Regions from separate parts of the Homo sapiens genome. Here region 1 is linked to region 2. Evidence: promoter capture Hi-C in human tissues and cell types (Jung and others, 2019). All regions are on one chromosome and are shown on one strand. The core of a region is centred on a gene start or on the middle of the fragment in contact, and the rest is flanking DNA. Distances in the headings are between cores, read along the strand shown. Region 1 overlaps PLEKHA6 (pleckstrin homology domain containing A6). Region 2 holds the start of KISS1 (KiSS-1 metastasis suppressor).

Region 1 (7,481 bases), core at 3,448-5,947, 87 kb before region 2:
GCCACGGGAGGAAGGTGGAGGGGACAGAGCCACAGGAGACTGGCATGGCTGTGCTCCTGGTTTTATCCTTTTACTTAGCAGAGTCAGGTGTGGTGAGATGTAGGGTAAGACAGAACCTGGCGGGGGTGGGTGCAGAGAGTTGCGGGGAGAACTCTTCACTCATTAAGAAGACAAGGTTGTCAGTTGAGAACAAAACTGAAATCCAGGGAGAAAGAGAACCAACCTTTTGCATTTAGATTTCTGTTGCCCCCATTCCCTCAACTTCCCCTTCAGGTCCCTCATCCCTTCAACCTCCAAAACATTTGTGCTCTTTGACCCTGGCACCTTCTAATGACAGTTTTGTGGAGGGGGTGTGGACAAGAATTCCTTGGCTTGGAGGAGGAGGTGGACGCACTGGCTTTTCTCAGCTGATGCTATCTCTCTGTGTGTGTACTCATGAATGCCCACGTGATTTAAAAAAAAAAAAAAAGAGGGAGACTGTCACCAAAAAGGAAGTGCTTACTTTACTCTCCTCCCGCCCCCAGCTAGGAGCCCTTTTGTTCCCTTGCCTCTTTCTTGGGAGGAAAGAGATTCGATGACATAGTGATGCTAGGTTGAACCTAGGGAGGAACTCGGGGCTCTGGAGAGCCTATTAGGTGGGAACAGGGTGCTCCCTGTGCCAGTTTAGAAAGCAGATTCGAGCGATAAGGTAAACCCAACCCCCTTGTGGCTTTCAGCTGTGGTGCTTCCTCTGGCTGGGCTGCCCATGGGCAAACAGAAACCAGGCACAATAGGGGGAAGGTGCCAGCCACTAGACCCAGCAGGGCGAGAGCAGAAGCAGCCAAGTTTCTGGGCATTTGAGGCCAAGAAAGAAGGGGAAGTAGAGTATAGGAGAGGAACGGGGATACTTGTTGTGTTCTGCCTCATATTGAGAGTCAGCCACAAATGTGACTAGCCAACCTCCATCCCTACACTCCCAGGAGAAGTATACTGGGATTGTTATTTCCAGGCAGGGCAGGGGGGCTTCATGGGGGATGCAAACTGTGCAGTTGCCCCACATGCTTGGTTTAATGCTCTGCTATTGCTGTCTTGAAATCCTTAAGTTTTGCACAAGGGGCCCGCAAATTGTGCAGCTGGTCTTATTTCCTGGCCCAGCCAGAAGTTGCAGGTGCAGAATAGTTGCTCATATACTCCAACAGGTGTAGGCAGGCTCACCTGTTACTCAGGTGTCACTTATGGAGGCCGGCTTCTGTCCCGGCTGGCACCTGTGCTGCATCCCTTTCCCTTTCCTCCTCTCTGTTCCCCTCCCAGAGTACTCTATTCCTCCTTGTCACAGCCTCCATGCCCAGTCTTTCTTCACGGCTGCTGCGTGGCAGGACAGGGGTGGGAACAGCAGTGTCCCTTGTCTGACTGCCTCCCTGCCTTCCTTCTCAGGCCCTCTCTTTTCCTTATCTGGGCTATAGCCAGCAGGTTCTCTAGGCTAGGTCTAGGCCTAGGAGCACCTCTTCCGTTCCTCTGAGATTGTCTTCCCTCCCCTCTGTAAGCCCCGGTTATCAGTGGATGCTCTCTGGCACCTGCTTCTTGTGATGTCTGCTTAGCAACAGGTTGTTTACCTGTGATTTCCATAGGATCCAGGTCTGGATGAGTGCTGGGTGGGGAAGGGGAGGTGCAGGGAAGGAAGAATCCTAAGCCTGCTGTCCTTGGTGGTACTTCCTCTACCCTGTCCTCCTCCATGCCAGCTTCTCCTGCTCTGGACCAAATGGCCCCACAGAAGACCTCCCTTTCCTCCTCCTCCCCCAAGCGTCAGCTAGAGGTTGGCCAATCCAGGAAGGAAAAGGAAAGCAGGAGGGAGGAACAGGTCCTCTGTGTCTCCAGCCTCCTCCCCAACTCTTCTTCCTTCTCCAACTCTTCTCTCCCAGCCTCCTTAAGCTGCTGGATGACCTTTTCCAGTGTTTCCTACCAGGCCAGTGCTGTTAGTAATGATACTTTCAAACTGTGCAGAGGAGTCTTAATGCATGTGATTTAAAAATAATGAGCCTGGCCAACACGGCGAGACCGTGTCTCTACTAAAAATACAACAAATTAGCCAAGCGTGGTGGCCCGTGCCTGACGTTCCAGCTACTGGGGAGGCTGAGGTGGGAGAATTGCTTGAGCTCAGGGAGCGGAGCCTGCGGTGAGCCAAAATCGCACTACTGAACTCCAGCCTGGGATACAGAACAAGAACGTGTCTCAAAAAAAACAAAAACAAAAACAACCAAAAAAAAACCAACAACAACAACAAAAACAACAAAAAACCCAAAAAAACGAAAACAATGGATTGTCCAGATTAATTCTGAGTGAACTTTGGAGTATATCATTTCTGATTTTTAACTTTTTGTTGTTGACAGCAGATTTTCCTTTCTTTTTAGCTTAGTTTAGGTCTATGAGGGAACTTGTATTTACTGAAGACACTGAGCTCATCAGCTGGTGGAAGGATACACTGGCTTAGAATTGCATTTCATAGAATTCAAAACTATTAGAACTGGAAGGTGGCTTAGAGAACATCTAGCCTAGTGCTGTCCAATAGAATGTTCTACAATGATGGAATGTCCTGTGACTATTCTGTCCCGTATGGTAACCACTAGCTACTGTGGCTCTTGAGACACAGTGAAATGTGGCTAGTGTAACTAGGAACTGAAATTTTAATTTTATTTAATTTTAATTATTCAAGATAGAATACGGCTAGTGGCTATCAACTTGGTGCAAATTTAGGATAGTGCTATTTATTGTATTCCCTTATTTTATTAATGATTATAACATTAGCCACTACTAAACAACTCAATGTGCCAGGCATTCTTCTAGAGGTTTTAAATATTTAGTCCTCCCAGCAACTCCAGTATCGTTACATGTTGCAGGTGGGGAAACTGAGACCCAGAAAGGGACAGTGACTCAGTAGTGGTCAGTTACCAAGACTCCTGACTCTGAGACCACCGGCCTTACCCTTTTCCTTAAGGACAATCCACACGCTGTCCATTCCTTGCCATCATGTGCCAGCTTTTTTCACAACTCTCCAGTCCCTTTCCAGATCTCCCTCTTCCTCTCGGGGGCGTCAGGGGAGCTCACAAAGGATCGTCTCAGTCTGCAGCAAGTGCTCTCCTAGGCACAGTCATTTTCTGGCTGGTTCCTTGGGTGGCCCTTGTTCCTAGGCTCCCTTTGGATCCCCCACCAGCAGGCAGCAGTGCAGGGATATCGCTTTGCCCTCAGAGTCCTTGGCAAGCTCCCCAAGTACAGGGGAAGTTCCAGATTCCTTGCTCCTGGCAAAAGGAGGTGTTCATAATTTCCCACAATCCACCTGGCTCCAGCTTACCCTATTACTCCCAGTCTGAGAGAGAACATCAGCTGAGCCCTCCTTGGGGGCCGGAGGCAGAATGGGTCTCCCTGGGCAGGTGAGGAGCAGCACTACATTAGAGCCTGCTGTTGCCCCTCAACCCTTGCTGTGCTACCCTCCAGCCAGGAGGCTCCTGCTCTCCAGCTCTGGCTGGTTTACTGCTTTCCTCTTCCCAGGGCAAAGCTTCTGCTTTGTAGACTCTTATCAGAGTCTGGCTGGCCAGTAGGGAGGGGAGGGACAGGAGGGGGCATGAAGCAGATGCACTGTGCACACTGATCCCGGCGAGAGGGATTTGAGGCTGAGCTCCTGTCTCCTTCAGCCGCTATTCAGCATCCCAACTGGAACAGCACGTGCCCCCTCCTCCAGGCAGTGGTGAGCCTGCTGGCCTGCCCTACAGCTGCTCCATCAAACTCAAACAGTTATTCAGTTCCCCTGTGTGTGAGGTGCTGGGCAGGGGCACAGCAATAAAGGCCAGGCTGTGGACAGTGTTTGTGTGGCTGCCCTTCCATGCCCCTACATCCAGGCAGCTGTTGTCAGACTAAAGTTTGTGGGTAGCCCCCAGCCCACATCACACACAGTCCCCAGACCTGTAGCCCACAGATATTACCAGTGAAAGAGTTTGTGGCTTTCATTACTGTGTTCTTGGAGCAGACCTTGAAAAGCTGGCATCTCCCCCTGAACCATGAAGCTCTCTCCTGCTTTCCTAGGGGCAGGGAGCTCAGATTGGGTGCATCGCAGGAACAGAAAGAAGGGAGCCCAAGACTCAAATTTTTCTGACCTCTCCTGTCACTATAGCTGGGACAATGCACCTCAGCTTCCCTGATTCTAAAATGGGCCTTCCTTGCCTCCCTCCCAGTGTAAGGACCAGAGATTGCATGCGTTTTATTTTTCTCTTCATTCCACATGCCTTCAGAGCATCATAACCTTTCTTCCTCTGCTCTCTGGTCCAGTGGGAGATTTGTGTTGTCTGCTCAACAAGGCATCACTCAATACCATTGTTTTACTGTTAAAATGAGAAAACTAAGATACCAGACAGCTTGATTCTCAAATTGCTGGATTGGGAACCAAGAAGGCACTGGTAGCTTTTGAGGATGGGGAAGGAGAGAGATCAGCCAGCTTCATAACTCTCCAAACACCCACTTTGTAAAATTCCTTTCGTTGGGTGGGGCAGGGTGGGGTCGCTGCTCTCCGTAGGACACCAGAAGCAGATCTGCTGAGTTAGGGATGCAGAGACATGGTTTCAATGACCTTCCATAGACCCGGCGGCGGACAGCTGGGCTGCCTCAGCCACTGAAGGGCAGGGGTTTGAGATTCAACTCAGAGCTGGAAGGCGGCGGGGCGGTGGGGGGGCATAATTAATTATTGCCCTGCCCTGTTACCCCTTGGGATCCGTTCCACATTGCTGGCTGTCAGGAGAAGGCAACTTGGAGGCGAGGGGGCTGGGGCCTTTTTTCTCTGCTTCTGTCTGGCTTAGCTACTGAGGAAAGGCTGAGAGGAGGAAAACCCAGAGCTGTAGGCAGCTGGTTCTCCTTTGAATTCCCCCTCTCTTTAGAAGGGAACAAGAGCACACAGCACAAGGAGGAGCTCCAGGGAGCTGGATTGCCCCAGTTCTCCAATTTGGGTCAGGGTGAAGGAGAAAGTGTCTCCCAGCCTGCCCATGGCAGCTTCTGGGTGGTAGAATCGCAGTTCCCCACAATTGGAAGACACTTCAGTGTTGAGACAGTTAAGGACTGGCTGTACCCGGGAATGATATTCAATAATTCATCAACCAGAAAGGATGCTGGCCTGGAGTCTTGGAGGGCCCTGTGGTGCCAGGCATTAACTCTTTTGTCTCTGGGTCATGGAGATGTGAGGAGGTCTCAGACCCTGGCCCAGAGATGGGGCAGGGACACTCGAGGGACTTGGGGGAGCAGCTTTTCACCCACCAACATGGAAGAGCTTCAGTATTTGAATCACTGGCAGAGTTATGCTATCTACTCTGGTTGTCTTCATTTTTCAGCAGACAGATGGAATTCCCTAAAGTAAAACAACCAGTTTAAAGATGAACCAAGCTAGGGTGGGAGGTCAGGATGAAGTTCCCCTGTATAGTATCCATGTTTTCTCTCATGCACACACACGTGCGTGCACACACATGAGCTTGAACCCGTTACCCTGACTGAAGTACACCTTGTCCTCCTGCCCTCAGTCTGCCATCTTAGGCCTTCCTATCTCCTCTCATAGGAATAAGGGACCACCCAGGCCCAGAGCAGGGGCTGGGAGACACTACAGTGAGAAAATGGGGGAAGGACAGCACCTGAGCTGGAAGGGAAGAAACCTGGACCTGGCCCCCTGATTTGTGATTTCTCTCCCTTGTCCACGGAGCCATCTCTTCTATCTTCTGCCTGTGGTGGGAGCTGAGCTCACGTAGAAGGCCCCCAGCCTTCCATAACTGCCCATAACAGGTTTTGGGATGGGGCTGGGGGTGCGGTGTGGCTGGGCAGAGTGAAGCAGGAAAGGGAGCAGCATGAGTCTTGTCTCCTAGACATGCAGCCGAGTAGCTTAGAACATTTCAATAAACTGGCTTGGGGCAGGGAGGTACCATCTTCTTGACAGTTTGGAAATAACTGTGGCATCAAAGGGGGGATGAGCAAGGGCAGAGAAGAAAGGTGAAAGCAAATACAAGGCTGGGTGACAGCCACTGGCAGCTGGTTCCCAGCACCCAGAGAACTGGTATTTTGATCTTCAAGGAGCACATGGAAGAGAGACAGTAGGGGTTGTTGTTTTTAGAGACAGGAGGGTCTTGCTCTGTTGTTTTTTAGAGACAGGGGTCTTACTCTGTTTTTTTTGTTTTTTTGAGACGGAATCTCTGTCTGTTGCCCAGGCTGGAGTGCAGTGGCGCAATCTCGGCTCACTGCAAGCTCCACCTCCTGGGTTCACGCCATTCTCCTGCCTCAGCCTCCTGAGTAGCTGGGACTACAGGTGCCCGCCACCAGGCCCGGCTAATTTTTTGTATTTTTAGTAGAGACAGGGTTTCACTGTGTTAGCCAGGATGGTCTTGATCTCCTGACCTCGTGATCTGCCCGCCTCTGCCTCCCAAAGTGCTGGGGTGACAGGTGTGAGCCACCGCCCCCGGCCTTTTTTGTTTGTTTGTTTTTGGTTTTTTTTAGAGATGGGGGCCTTGCTCTGTTGTTTTTTAGTGACGAGGGTCTTGTGCCTCAGGTTGGGGTGCAGTGGTGTGATCATAGTTCACTGCAGTCTCGACCTCCTGGGCTCAAGTGATCCTCCTGCCTCTGCCTCTGAGTAGCTGGGACTACAGACATGTGCTACCATGCCTGGCTAAGGCAGTGTTGTTTGGAGGGGTTCCTTCCCACCTGCAAATACCTAGAAGTGCTGCCAGGGCCTGACCCTCTTTGACCTCTTCTTTATGTGGCAGCAATAGGTAGGAAAACAGAGGGCCTCTGATGAGAAGTGGCTAGGAAAGTGTATTTTCTCCTGGAAATGGCAGGGGGAGCTTCAGGAATCAGGTGCATGAAGATGGCTGGAAACATAAACTGAGTTGGTTTTTAATTGGGACAGGATGCTGAAGCAGATAAGCCTCCTTGAAAATAATGATGAGATCCAGATGGGGAGGCACAGAGCAGGAGCCAACCTTCTCCCCACCTTCCCCTCCTCTGTGGCAGCAGAAATCCTCTCTGGAGCATGGACAGTCTCGGCTTGGAATTTGCTAGCTGGGAGAAAGAAGGAAGTGGAAGGGATGGGACCCCCTTTCCACTTGCCTTGCATGCAAACCTCTCTCCACCTAATGAGCTGTAATGCTGGAAGCCAAGGCGTCCTCAGGATGGGGAAGCTGGGCCAGGGCTAATTCTTTGTCAGCAGATTCTCAGGAGCTATGGAAATGAAGCAGCTTGGTGTACAGCAGATAATCAAGAGAGGCCCAGTGGGTGGAAGGAGTGGAGTATTTCTCCAGTCGTTCAATATTGATCACAGTGGGGTTCTGGGCATCCAGCCTGGGAGTGTGTGTGCATGTGTAAACATACATGCCTGCAAAAGATCGTGAAACTTGGATTAATTTTGCCACTCTTGACAGTGTAGTGCCAGGTATACTGCACGTGGAGGCTGACTCTCCAGGGGGATGTTTGGAGATGAAGCAATGCAG
Region 2 (7,390 bases), core at 95-2,594:
TTCAGCCCATTAAGACCACCTCCTGCTTCAGGACAGGCCAACGTACACATCATCCCCACAGCGAAGTTTTGGTCTATGAGGGTCAGTGCTGTCCTCATAGGCTATCATTTCTGTCCTGGTGTTTAACAGCCCTAATGGGTGTGATAATAATATGTTTGCAATCCCCTGTTAACAGTAAGCATCAGACAAGTGAGGGGTGCTAACCTGCAGACTGCCGGCATGCTTCTCCAGCATTAGGGGACGACCAGGTTGAGCTTGTGCTGGGAGAGCGTCCTGTCTGAGGGTAGAGACATAGCCCCTGCCTTCAGAGACTCCCAGCCTGATAGAAGAAACAGTCTCTGCCCTGGAGAGCCCCTTGTCCAAGGGTATAGAGAGTTATTGCAGGCTCAAGAAAGAGACAAAAGTCACTTGCGATGCATGCAGTTAGCAAATATCTATTGAGGGCCCTCTCTGTATGTGCCCAGCAATGGAGTGGGTGCCAAGGGTACAGGGGGAAGGGGGCCTGTCCCTGTCCTCAAAGTGCTGTACCTGAGCAGTCACAAAATAGTATGGTGGTGGGTGCCACGAGACAAGAAGGTGGGGCCCCCAAGCAGGCTGTCTGGATGTGCTGCCACCTGGAAGTCCCCTCTCTGCACCCCTGGCACTTCCCAGGTGCATCCACCTTCTGCAGCTCCCATTTCGTCCTCCTTGCTCATAGCTGGTTGCTTACCTAAGGTCTCTGACCAGTCCATAGCCTATTCACCTCAAAACCCTGCGCTGAGGAAGCGCTCAGTGACCGAGGAAAGAAGGGAAGCAGGAAGGAAGGAAAAAGGAGAGAATCTCTGCCACCACCACCCTGTGCCAGTCACAGGGCGCAGTCTAGGAGCCGCCTGGAGACCCACGCTGACCTGGCTTTCCCTCAGAGCTGGGAGCATGGGATGTGAGGAGCCCCTGGGTCAGCCTGTGCCCTTCTCCTCCCCTCTTCCTGTCGTTTTCTACGTCTAATTCAGACTAGGTGTGTCTGTGGCTCTTCGGAGAGGAAACAAGACATTTCACACTGACACTTCTCCCCACCCTCCTCAGATAGCCCATTTCCACGTTGTTTGGGGGCAGGATGGGTCCTCTGGGTGGGAAGAGGGTGTGGAGGATGGAAAGAGCCGGTAAGAAGGAGAAAGTCCCGCCTCGGAGGGCTCGGGTGGGGCAGGAGGAGAGGCTGCCTCCAGTCACAGAGCCCGGAGGCAGAGGCCTCCCAAGGTGCCATGCTCTTCAGGAGGGTCTGAGGAGGAGGGAGGGGCGGCAGAGTGGGCCTGTGCTTGGAGACGTCACCCCGGGCTTTATAAAAGGGATGTGATCAGGGAGCTGGGGAGAACTCTTGAGACCGGGAGCCCAGCTGCCCACCCTCTGGACATTCACCCAGCCAGGTGGTCTCGTCACCTCAGAGGCTCCGCCAGACTCCTGCCCAGGCCAGGACTGAGGCAAGGTAGGCACACTGCAGTGTCCACCCCTGGGAAGGGGGTCTGCCCTGACCTGGGGATGCTCTGGAGGGGAGCAGGGAATCCGTTCTAAGACGGACAGATGCATCCAGGCAGGCAAAGGCAGGGGAGGGAGACACTGATCTTTCCTGTTTACCAGCCTGGCCAGATTATCCTGGGATGCCTGGGCGAATACACTGAGTCGCACTTTATTTGTGAAGCTAACACTCTGGGGATCCCGAGGGCTCTCTCTTGCTGTGGAAGGAATACATGCAATAAATAAATGCTGTGGCTGGAATTAGAGACCACAGACACGCTTGGATGGACCTAGGGAACCGCTCGGGGCTCTTGAGAGCAATGGGGCTCCTCTGAGCAGCTCCCCCCAAATTACAGATGGCAAATACAAGCCTAACCAAGGGCATCTACCTACCCACTAAGAACTAGGGGCCACTTCACTCCAGAAGCTTTCCAACCATGCCTGGAATTTCTGTCACTCACTGGATACAAACCCCCCAGGGTGGAGGGAACCACAAAAATTGTCTACAGCAGGTCGGCCACTCATGGCCCCTTTCCAAATAATTCATTTCTACCATATATGTTAAGTGCCCCGATGGGCTGGGCAGTGGAATCTGTGTGTGTGTGTGTGTGTGTGTGTGTGTGTGTGTGTGATATGTGTGTATGGGTGTATGTGTGTATATGTGTGTGATGTGTGTGCGCATGTGTGGTGTATGTGGTGTATGTGTGTGTATGATGTACGTGTATGGGTGTATGTGTGTATATGTGTGTGGCGTGTGTGTGCATCTGTGGTGTGTAGTGTATGTGTACGGGTGTATGGGTATATATCTGTGTGGTGTGTGTGCATGTGTGGTATGTGTGGTGTATGTGTGTGTATGATGTGTATGTATGGATGTGTGTATGTGTGTGTGTATGTTGTGTGTATGGGTGTATGTGTGTATATGTGTGTGTGGTGTGTGTGCGTGTGTGGTGTGTGTGCATGATGTGTGTGTATAGGTGTATGTGTGTATATGTGTGTGGTGTGTATGCGTGTGTGGTGTGTGTGGCATATGTGTATGTGTGTGTATGGGTGTATGTGTGTGGTGTGTGTGGTGTATGTGTGTGTGTATGATGTGTGTGTATGGGTGTATGCGTGTATATGTGTATGGGTGTGTGCGTATATATGTGTGTGGTGTGTGTGTGCATGTGTGGTGTGTGTGGTGTATGTGTGTGGTGTGGGGGGTGTGTGTGTGTGTGCTGGGGTCAGGCAGAGTTGTCCCATGGCGCACATGGTAAGTGCCATCCACAGTGGGAAGGAGGCACTCGGGGGGAAAGGGGAGCCGGAAGAAAGAGTACCACCCTCCAACCACACAAGCCCACTGCCCTCCTTCCTGGCCCACCACCCTGCTTCCGCACAGAGAACCGGAAATGTACATCTACCCACATTCCTGTCTGGCTCAGACCCCTCCAGGATGAAGCCCCTGCAGGGCCCCTTCCCCCAGCCTTGTCACTAGCTTTCTCTCCATGCAAAGCTCCATCCTCTTGTCTAGCTAGAGGGCCTGAAGTTCCCTTTGCACTCAGCCCCTGCCCTTGCTTCAGCGCCTTAGCACCGTCCTGGGAACACTTTCTGTAAACCTTTCAGCGATTCATGCTCAGAAACAGCTCAAGTGCCACCCCCTGCCAAAAATCTGCCTGGTCCTCCTAGGTTGGGTTCCCCTGGACTCCCATATCCCCTTGTGGATTCACATGCATCCGGTATGTCATTTACAGTGTTATTTTGAAATGATCTGCTGATGAGTTAATTTCTCATGCTAGACTTGAGATCTTGGGGGCAGCAACTCTGTCTTAGCACACCTGTGCACCCCTAGCACCTAGCACAGCACCAGCACCTAGTCGGTGCTCAAGGAGTGATTTCCAAATCAACCCAGACCCTGTGCATCCACGGTCTGAAATGCTTTTACACTATTCTCTCCAATGGATTAATCCTACCTCTACTCCGTGCCCCAGCCCTGGGCCTTAAGGTAAATGCAGAAAGCTGTGGTCTGGGTTTCAACTTGTCACAGTATCAAAGTCTGCAAGGATAAGTAAACTTCTGAGCAGGTGGCTGGTGGCCAATCTGATCCAGGGTTCTTATTTTATAGATGGACCAATGAGGTCTGGAGATGGGGGTGACTTGCTCACATTTCACAGGGAATGAAAGCAGAGCTGGGGCAAGATTCAAGTACTCCTCATTCCATTTCAGGGTTCTTACTCTTTACTCCATGCCTGAGTCCTGCAGGGAGCTGGGTGAGGAATGGGGGGTGGGGGTGTGGGTGCAAGAGCAGAGAGATGCATGGGCCTGAGCCACCATTAGGAGCTGATGGGCACAAAAGGTTCTCATCCCCCAGTCCCCCTTCCCCAGGGAGAGCGGCTCCAGGCTGTGGGTCAGGCCAGGACAATCTTTTTGCTCAGCTGGCATTGCTCCTGCCTCCCCAGCCTTTTGTCTTTAATCGTGTTTGTTGGACAGTCTCAAAGTGTCTGGTGACTTTTTCAAAAAGAAATTAGATTTGGGAGCCGGAAGAGGTAGGGTGGGGTATGTGGGGTGTCGGTGGGGCAGAGCAAGGCAGGGTGATGGGAAATGGTGTGAGGATCAGGGCACACGGCTCCCATCTCAGCAGCCAAAATGATGAGGCCAATTCAATTCATAGCCTCTTAGAGTCCACAAAGAATAGACTATGGAGATAACTGACCTGATAAATCAAGGAAAGGTTTTTCTTTTCCATGAATGATAGGCAATAAGACAATTTAATGACCGTCTTCAAGGCTGTGAAGGGCTATGAGAGAGAGCAAGATGATTGCCTCTTTCTTTCTTTTTCCTTATAAAAGAAAAAGAAATAAGTTTCTCTTACAGCAGGAGAGAACAAGGTCAGACTCAAGCGTATGGATGGGGAGAGTGGAACACAGAAAGTTGTGGATTTGTGCAGAACCCACCATGGAAGGAAGAAGTGCCTGTTGCCAGGCTCCCGAGAGAATATTGGAACCTCAAAGTTCCCCACTCAGTGCCCTGAAGTCCTTGCCCTACTTCACCCCTCCCCAGTCACTCCTATATATGGCATCTCACCCCACCTTTCTCAAACATTCCTCTCAAGCAACCCTGAGATTCAGAATCCTGGCCATTCTCTGACCCAAGCAGTCCTGCCCCTTCCACCAAATTGGGTCTTTCCTTTTTTCCTAACTTTACTGTCCTCACCTCCTCCAGGAAGCCCTCCCTGATGACCCTCACCTAGCATGAATTCAGCTTTAACTACACTGTGTAAAGAGTCTCAATCCCATTTCACTGATATATTTGTTTAGACTCATCCCTCTACCAGGAGCCTCCAAAGGCAAGAACTTGCCCCTCTCTTGGAGGACTGTCCCTTTTGCACTGGGCTCTGCCCTCAGCACCCAGCCCAGATCCTGTGCCTGACCTAGTCTTTGTTCCCTCTCTCTGTCTCAGCCTCAAGGCACTTCTAGGACCTGCCTCTTCTCACCAAGATGAACTCACTGGTTTCTTGGCAGCTACTGCTTTTCCTCTGTGCCACCCACTTTGGGGAGCCATTAGAAAAGGTGGCCTCTGTGGGGAATTCTAGACCCACAGGTATGTATCCTCTGGGGAAAGGAGTGGGAGGGAGCAAGTGGGTTGTTGCAAAATGAGCTTTCCCGTATTTTCCATCTAGTCGACTGGTGTGAGTTTAACATTGCATTTGGTGGAAATCTAAGACTGGCACACATGCAACTCATTGAGGGGGTCCTGTTAACCCTGCAAGTGACGGATGCCTTGCCTCTGTGATGGCCTCAGTCCGCCCACCTAGGTTCCAGGGCTTATTAACCCTTGAGCTCTTTCATGGTTTCCTCACACTGTGTTCTCTGCTCTACGTCAGCAACCTCTCTGTGCCGATGTTGAGAAGAAACTTCATATGCAACCTTGCTTTATCGGTGACCTCAGATTCTTTGTGGAGAATTTGGAAAAAAAAAAAAACCTAAACCAAAGGGCAGATATTTGATACCTATTAACCTTTTGGAGACAATGAACTGTCTCCAGTTCATTGGGGAACTGATAAGCTGGAAAATTTGAGACCCACAGAGGTAAAGAGATTTCCCCAGAGTCGCTCAAACACTGTGGAAACCCAGCAGGTGTCAGAGCTCCCCAGGAGTGTGTCTGGTGAGTGGCACAAGCTAGAACAATACTAGTCCCCAAGTCAGGAGCTGTGGCTTGGCACACTTCCTGGTGTCAGCTTTCTGGGCAAACTAGAACCCATGACTTAGCTTCTCTGGACCTGAGTTCCCCCAGCTATAAAACTTGGGGCATGCCCTCTACACATTTGATGTCATCGTATATGCCCATAAGACCTTCCAGAGCACAGAGGACACGGCCCCGGGTGTCGTTTGCCAAGCGTGTCTTCTGTCCTGGGATCAGGCGTTTTTCTGGGTGAGGGAGGCTACCCCAGAAAATAACCCCACACTGCCCAGGGATATAGGGTTGTTGGCTCTTTTTGGCAAAAGGCTTTAGGTGAGGTCACCAACAGCAGCCTGAACAGTGATTTACTACTGGTCTAGCGTGCGCAACTGGGGAGGAAGCCATCCTCCTCCTACCTCAGCCAGGCCCTGGGCAAGGGCTGAGGGACCTCGCAGGCGACTGCCATTAACTCTGGACCAGGTCCACACTCCTCTTTTCCAGACTGTGCCAGGGCACGGAGGAGCAGGGCTCAAAGCCAACTGCCGCCCCAGCACATCTATTCACACCCATTCACACACCAGGCCTCATTTCCACTAATCTCTTGCCGCAATGGGCTGGGGTTATTGTCTACACAGAGCTAGTTGCCCTATTTTACAGCCAAAAAGTACAGTGAACTTAATGAGCCTTGCATGTGAAGTGCCTTCCAAATTAGCCTTGTTAATCCTCAGAATGAAGGAGAGAAGTTATACCCAGGATGGAGGAAGAGAGCCAGTTAAGGTGACCTAGATAATTTTTGTTTCTCATTGAGTCCTTATGTAGCTTATTGGGCGGGGTTGGGGGGGTGGGTGGTCACAATTCTTATCAAAGACGAGTGTTGGAACACAGGTGTGTGGGGCCACAATGTCTTAGCTCCACTTTCTCGATTTCTGTTACTACACGTTTTTAGCTTTTATGTATTTAACAGGCATTTATTGAGGCCCCACTATGAGCAAGCCACTGTTTCAAGCACTATGAGAGATACAGAGATGAATTAACATGGCCCCACTGCCCAGGCTGCTCACAGCCAGGAAGGGGCCCAGAGCTGGGTGTTCAGCAAATACTTTGGTTTTCTTTATTTCCATGCCCTACCCTGTTTGTTTCCTAAAAGGAAGTAACGTAATATGAGAGTTATTTAAGATAATTCTGGCAAACATTCTAAATCAAAGCTATGTTGGAAGAGGGAGGCGCCTAGGGCCTAATCATCCCAGCTAAGGTGATCGTGCTGGTTCGCATGGCACTGAGCTCCGAGCTTCCAAAAGGTCAAGGAAGGAAAAGAAGGATAGGATGGGATGACAGGAGGTGTTGCAAAGCCATCTTTCCCGGACCCCGGCCTCATCTTTCTGTGCCCTCTGTCCTAGGCCAGCAGCTAGAATCCCTGGGCCTCCTGGCCCCCGGGGAGCAGAGCCTGCCGTGCACCGAGAGGAAGCCAGCTGCTACTGCCAGGCTGAGCCGTCGGGGGACCTCGCTGTCCCCGCCCCCCGAGAGCTCCGGGAGCCCCCAGCAGCCGGGCCTGTCCGCCCCCCACAGCCGCCAGATCCCCGCACCCCAGGGCGCGGTGCTGGTGCAGCGGGAGAAGGACCTGCCGAACTACAACTGGAACTCCTTCGGCCTGCGCTTCGGCAAGCGGGAGGCGGCACCAGGGAACCACGGCAGAAGCGCTGGGCGGGGCTGAGGGCGCAGGTGCGGGGCAGTGAACTTCAGACCCCAAAGG

What was found. Contacts are between HindIII fragments. The study calls those that stand out against the background at their distance.
Region 1: a fragment that was not itself captured here is called in contact with the fragment with the promoter of KISS1 in region 2 in 2 of the 25 tissues and cell types used here (aorta and mesendoderm cells).

The regions. Positions count from the first base shown.
Region 1 is chr1:204,280,223-204,287,703 of GRCh38, reverse strand. All of the region lies in intron 1 of PLEKHA6 (pleckstrin homology domain containing A6), which reads left to right. Among named protein-coding and RNA genes, the nearest start is that of GOLT1A, 70 kb to the right of the region's middle. RefSeq lists enhancers at 3,200-3,699, 3,700-4,201 and a silencer at 4,786-4,989. The HindIII fragment of the contact is 6,858 bases long and covers 1,269-7,481 here.
Region 2 is chr1:204,190,445-204,197,834 of GRCh38, reverse strand. It overlaps KISS1 (KiSS-1 metastasis suppressor), which reads left to right and starts at 1,344. Exons shown (of 3, transcript NM_002256.4): 1 at 1,344-1,459; 2 at 4,921-5,061; 3 at 7,038-7,390. The coding sequence starts at 4,959. The coding sequence ends at 7,351. The HindIII fragment of the contact is 9,045 bases long and covers 1-5,466 here.